Linked DNA regions of Homo sapiens: region 2 is linked to region 1. Evidence: promoter capture Hi-C in 16 types of primary human blood cells and fetal thymus (Javierre and others, 2016). All regions are on one chromosome and are shown on one strand. The core of a region is centred on a gene start or on the middle of the fragment in contact, and the rest is flanking DNA. Distances in the headings are between cores, read along the strand shown. Region 1 overlaps CDH16 (cadherin 16). Region 2 holds the start of KCTD19 (potassium channel tetramerization domain containing 19).

What was found. Contacts are between HindIII fragments. The CHiCAGO score rates a contact against its expected background, and 5 or more counts as called.
Region 2: a contact is called between the fragment with the promoter of KCTD19 here and a fragment that was not itself captured in region 1, in 1 of 17 cell types (M1 macrophages). The highest score is 5.0, in M1 macrophages.

Annotation. Positions count from the first base shown.
Region 1 is chr16:66,911,340-66,913,932 of GRCh38, forward strand. It overlaps CDH16 (cadherin 16), which reads right to left. Exons shown (of 18, transcript NM_004062.4): 8 at 2,152-2,274; 9 at 1,792-1,942; 10 at 1,325-1,552; 11 at 1,165-1,241; 12 at 903-1,091; 13 at 560-801. Among named protein-coding and RNA genes, the nearest start is that of CDH16, 6.2 kb to the right of the region's middle. RefSeq lists an enhancer at 607-1,108. The HindIII fragment of the contact is 7,999 bases long and covers 1-2,593 here.
Region 2 is chr16:67,325,467-67,328,059 of GRCh38, forward strand. KCTD19 (potassium channel tetramerization domain containing 19) reads right to left here and starts at 1,275. Exons shown (of 16, transcript NM_001100915.3): 1 at 1,239-1,275. The coding sequence starts at 1,241. It overlaps LRRC36 (leucine rich repeat containing 36), which reads left to right and starts at 1,349. Exons shown (of 14, transcript NM_018296.6): 1 at 1,349-1,466. The coding sequence starts at 1,397. RefSeq lists a silencer at 1,242-1,391. The HindIII fragment of the contact is 1,968 bases long and covers 280-2,247 here.

The DNA.
Region 1 (2,593 bases), core at 61-2,560:
GAGGTACTGGGACTACATATAGGGTTTTGCTCAGAATCCCCCAGGGCTGTGTGACTTGCTTAAATTCCACACCCTCTCTGTGACTCAGGGGCCACAGCAAAGCCTGGGGGGCCCAGTCTCTCTCTCCAGCTTCAGGATTTGTTGTGGTGGTGGTGGTGGGTGTGGGATGAAGAACAGATCATGTGGGTAAGGGAGAAACTCTTAGAGCCTGGGAGGCCCATTTCAACTTTGCTCACTCCAGGTCACCCTGCAAGGGAATCAGAGTCTATGAACAACCTTGTCTGTCTGCAATCTGTTGGGGGGCATTGGAGGAGGGCCTGGTCCTCCCTCCAGGTGCTGAGGCATAATCTGAGCTCTCATGGGGTCCAAAACACCCCTCTCCATGCCCCACCCAGTCCATCCAGCCCCGATCCCTGCCAGGAGTCACAACCTTGGCATTTGCCATAGTTTGAGAAATTTTGCAGGCCACAGATAATGTGAGTCCCCTCTGAGGCCCTGGGGTCATCCCCAGGGAGCAGGGGCAATCCAGTCCAGGTAAGGGGCTGGGATTTTAGCTCACCTGAGGGTTCGGCTGATGGGGTCGGAGGGCTGGATGGTCAGCAGGAAAGAGCCGGCTGGGGCACTGATGGGGACACTGGCCTCGTAGCTCTCCTGGTCCAACTTGGGGGGTGGCATCACTCTCTCCACTAGCACAGTCACCGTGGCGGTGGCTCCAGGGCCTGGGCCTGGCCCCACCAGCTTCGCCACACTCTGCACCACCACCACCACCTCATGACTTGGAGCTGCCTCATAACTGAGGTTCTGGAACCAGGAGGCCCAGGTCACTGTGCGGGCCTGGGCAAGGCACATGTGCATGCATGCGTGCATGTGTGGGCCCCTTTCCCAGCTACCCAGGCCCTCACCTTGCAGAGTCTGAGTCTAACATGCCCAGAGTCTGGCTCCCAATCCAGGCCAAAAGTCCCTTCTGTGTCTCCCCTCTCAATGGCAAAATCCATGAGGCGGAAGGCGGGCTCGAGGTCAGCATCAATGGCTGTTAGCATGGCCACCAGAGTCCCGGGCTCCACATCCTCAGGGAGGCTTATAGGCCCAATCTGGAGGAGGAGGAGGGATGGTGAGCCCCCCACCAGCATCCTTCCCAAGGCCTTCTCCCCTGCGTCTGCTTACCTGGGAAGTGATGAACTCAGGGGCGTGATCATTGATATCTGTGACTGCGACTTCGACTTCACACGTGCTGCTGAAGCCTAGGGCAGAGGTGGACGTGTTGGTGAGGTCAGGGTAGGAACAGAGGGGACAGGGGGCCTGGGTCACCAATCAGGGCACTTACCACCCTCTGCGCCTGCCAGGTCCATGGCCAGCACCAGAAGCAGGATGTTCTGGCCTGCTCGGAGTGGGAGCACCCCCAGCGTCACACTGCCTGAAGTGGGGTCCACCTGGAAGGCTCTCCCCTCTACCCCATCCTCAGGCTCAGGGCTCAGGAGCTGATACACAACGTGGGAATTGGGGGAGCCGGGGGCATCTGCATCCTCTGCTGACAGTCTAGTCACTTCAGTACCTGCCAAGACAGCACCCGCCTGGATAGGACCACAGCCCAGCCTGGAGACCTTACCCCACCCACTCCTTATTTTGTGCCAAACTAAACTGAATTTGAGCTCGTGTGTGTGTGTGTGTGTGTGTGTGTGTGTGTTATGGAGGGACATTGACATGGGGGCCTGAGGCTGGGTCCTTATCCCAGAGAAGAGCAAGACCAGGTGGTTAATAGAGACTTCGTCCCTCTCCCATCCTGTAGCTCACCTGGTGGACTGAGCTCAGGGATGCTGACTGTGGGGTCACGGGGAGGGCAGATAGGCACGTTGTCATTCTCATCCATCACCAGCACGTGCAGCTCCAGAGGGGCCGCATAGTCCTCGCCATGGGAATTCTGAGCCCGCACCTGGAGCAGGTACTGCGGTGGGCAGTAGGGGGCTTCAGGTCAGGACCAAGGGCAGCTCCAGCCTTGCCTGGCTCTGAGTTTCCTTCCGGTGGGCCAGCTCCAGCTCTTCGGGGCTCTTTCCCACTGCCTCAGCCTCTGTTGTAGTTGTGACACCCCCAAAAGCCAACTGGACACTGACCAAGCACCCCCAGCCTGCATCCCTGGCTCCCCCTTCATATCACCTCAGCCTGGGCTTCTCTGTCCAGCTCTCTGGTCACGTAGAGGTTTCCCTCTGCATTCACTTCAAAGGGTCCCGGGGGATGGCTCTCCAGGTGATAGTGCACATCACCCCCACTCCAGTGTACCTGGGGGGGACACCCCGGGCCAAGGGGCAGGAACAATCCATGTCAGCCTTTGCGCCCCATCTGATTTCTCGTTGAGGAGCCTGAGCCCAACTGTGTGACCCAGGCAAGGTGCTGCCCTCCCTGGGCCTGGAGTCCAGGTGGGATCCTTCTGTTCAGGGCACATGTTGTTAGTGGCCTTGCCCTGATCCAAGCCTGGACCCTGCCCAAAGTGCTTGAGTGACCATGTTACTTTATTTTCTGCCCTCTCAGCCTGGGCCTGACCCCAGGGCATTCCTAGAAGAGGCCTGAGACATTCCTGGCCCGGGGTGACAATCCCCAT
Region 2 (2,593 bases), core at 25-2,524, 410 kb after region 1:
CTCCTGACCTCGTGATCCACATGCTTCGGCCTCCCAAAGTGCTGGGATTACAGACGTGAGCCACCACGCCCAGCCCACCCTCTTTTCTTGTTAAGGATAGGGTGTGACAAGAGGGTCCTGGCTCCTTCTTACATACATGTCCCATCCACAGGTGGGCTCTTAAGTGCCTGCTGGAGTGAGGGTAGGGGTTAGGGATGCGGCTGTTCTTTCCCAAAGACTACTCAGGGGCTGGTTAGTGCAGAGCTATCGCAGCCTGGCGACAGCCCTCAGTCACAGGCAAGCTTAGGGGAACCTGTGGTGCTTGAAAGACAAAAGGCTTCTTGCCGGACTGACTTCAGGAAACGGGGTAGCCCTAAAGCAGTCATCCCCACCCCATTACAAAGAGCTTCTCTCTTTCCCACGCTGATCCTTCTCCCCCGAAGAAGCTCCGTCCAAGTAAATTTCTTACCTTTTTTTTTTTTTTTTTTTTGAGACAAGGTCTGGCTCTGTCACTCAGGTCGCCCAGGCTGGAGTGCAGTGGTGCAATCTCGGTTCACTGCAACCTCCACCTCCCGGGTTCAAGCGATTCTCCTGCCTCAGCCTCCCGAGTAGCTGGGACTACAGGCCGTGCCACCACACCCGGCTAATTTTTGTATTTTTAGTAGAGATGGGGTTTCACCATGTTGGCCAGGCTGGTCTTGAACTCTTGACCTCAGGTGATCCGCCCACCTCGGGCTCCCAAAGTGCTGGGATTACAGGCGTGAGACACCGCGCCCAGCCCGTCCAAGTCAATTTCTAGAGCTAGAACTTCCTCATGCTCTAAAGACAGGACCCCAACTCCTCAGAGCCAGGATTCCCAACCTTTCAGATCTGGAGCTCCCCATCATGCCTTAGAGTTCTGTCCCCACGCTCCAATCCTTCAGATTTGGATCTCCCCTTCACACACACCCTCGCCTTGCCCCAAAGTCAGCATCCCCCAGCGCTGAGATATGAAGACCACCCCGTCAAAGGGGCACACGCCCAGCCCTCAGAACCGGAGTCCCCCACATCCTCAGAGCCAGAACACTTCATCCCTCAAGACAGAGCGTTATTCTAACTCCTCAGAGCCAGCCCCCCAAATCCTTCCCGGCTGGGGGCCCCTCGCTCTCTCCCATGCCCCAGAGCCAGGTCTCGAACCACTTAGCCCCAATCCTTGGCCACAGCGGCCCCCATTCGCCGCTTTGGTGCTTTTGGCGCCCCCGCCAGAGCGGGCTCCGTACCATGGTCGCGGCTCCAGCAGCGGGCGGGCGGGCTTGTGACCCGGCCAATAACGGTTCCCGGGGTCGCGGCGGCGCGCGCGCGGGGGGCGGGGCAGTGGGCGGGGCCTGGCGTGCGCCGGGTGGTCTCGCGGGCGGTGGCAGGTGAGCGGCGGGCGGGGATGGCGGAGCAATGGGAGCTGGACGAGGAAGGCATTCGCCGCCTGGGGGCGCTGACGCTGGAGCAGCCGGGTAGGGTCTGGCCGGGAGGGTGTGGACTGGGAACGTAGGGTCAGAAGCTGTGGAAAGAAAACTGAAGTGGAAGGCGGGGAACCTGAGATAGAGGCGAGGGAACCACAGAGAAGCGGTACCTGAGGCTGGGGGGCGGGGGGATAACTTGAGGCAGAAGGTTAGAGGGAGGTGGAGGTGGAGGAACTGAAGTAACGGGAGGGTGTGGGGCAGAGCCCGAGGAATTGAGAGAGAAGAGGGGAGTGTGAAGTAGGGAAGGAGAAACAAGGTTAACAGGGGACCCTGCCGCAGGTGACAGAACTGCGGGGGGCGGTGGCTGACCGCTGTAATCCCAGCACTTTGGGAGGCGGAGGCGGGTGGATCACCTGAGCGTGGCCAACATGGTGAAACCCCGTCTCTACTAAAATACAAAAATTAGCCCGGCGTGGTGGTTCAAGTCTATAATCCCAGCTACTCGGGAGGCTGAGGCAGGAGAATCGCTTGAACCCGGGAGGCGGAGGTTGCAGTTAGCCGAGATCGCACCACTGCACTGCAGCCTGGGCGACAGAGCGAGACTCCATCTCAAAAATAATAATAATAAATAAAATAAATAAATAATAAAATGTCTATTAGACATCCAAGTGTAAGGTACCTAGTAGGCAGTTGGATATATGGGTCTGGACCTCAGAGGAGAGGTCAGGGTTAGAGATGAAAATTTTGGAGACATTAGCAATAGGTGGTATTTAAAGCTACGGGAGTGGATGAACTCAGCTAAGGAGAGAATGTCGATGGAGAAGTGAAAGAAAGCTTAAGACTCAACCTTGGAATATTTCAGTGTTTAGAGGTTGTATAGAGGAAGAATGTGGTATCTTGGAATTTGAGAAGGGGTAGTGTATCGAGCAAGCAATGGCCAACTGTGCCAAATGCTATTGACAGGCTGAGCAACTTAAATGCAGAGTGTCTGTTAGATTTAGCAACATGGAACTTACTGGTGACCTTGACAGAGGGAGTTTTGGGAGGGTGGGGAGGAGGGAAACCAGATTGGAGTGGGATGAAAAAGGGAAATGATATTTGAGGGGAAGAGACAGTGAAAGTAAGAACTTTTGCTGAAAATTTTAGCTGTAAAAGAGACTGCAGAAATAGATGGTAGC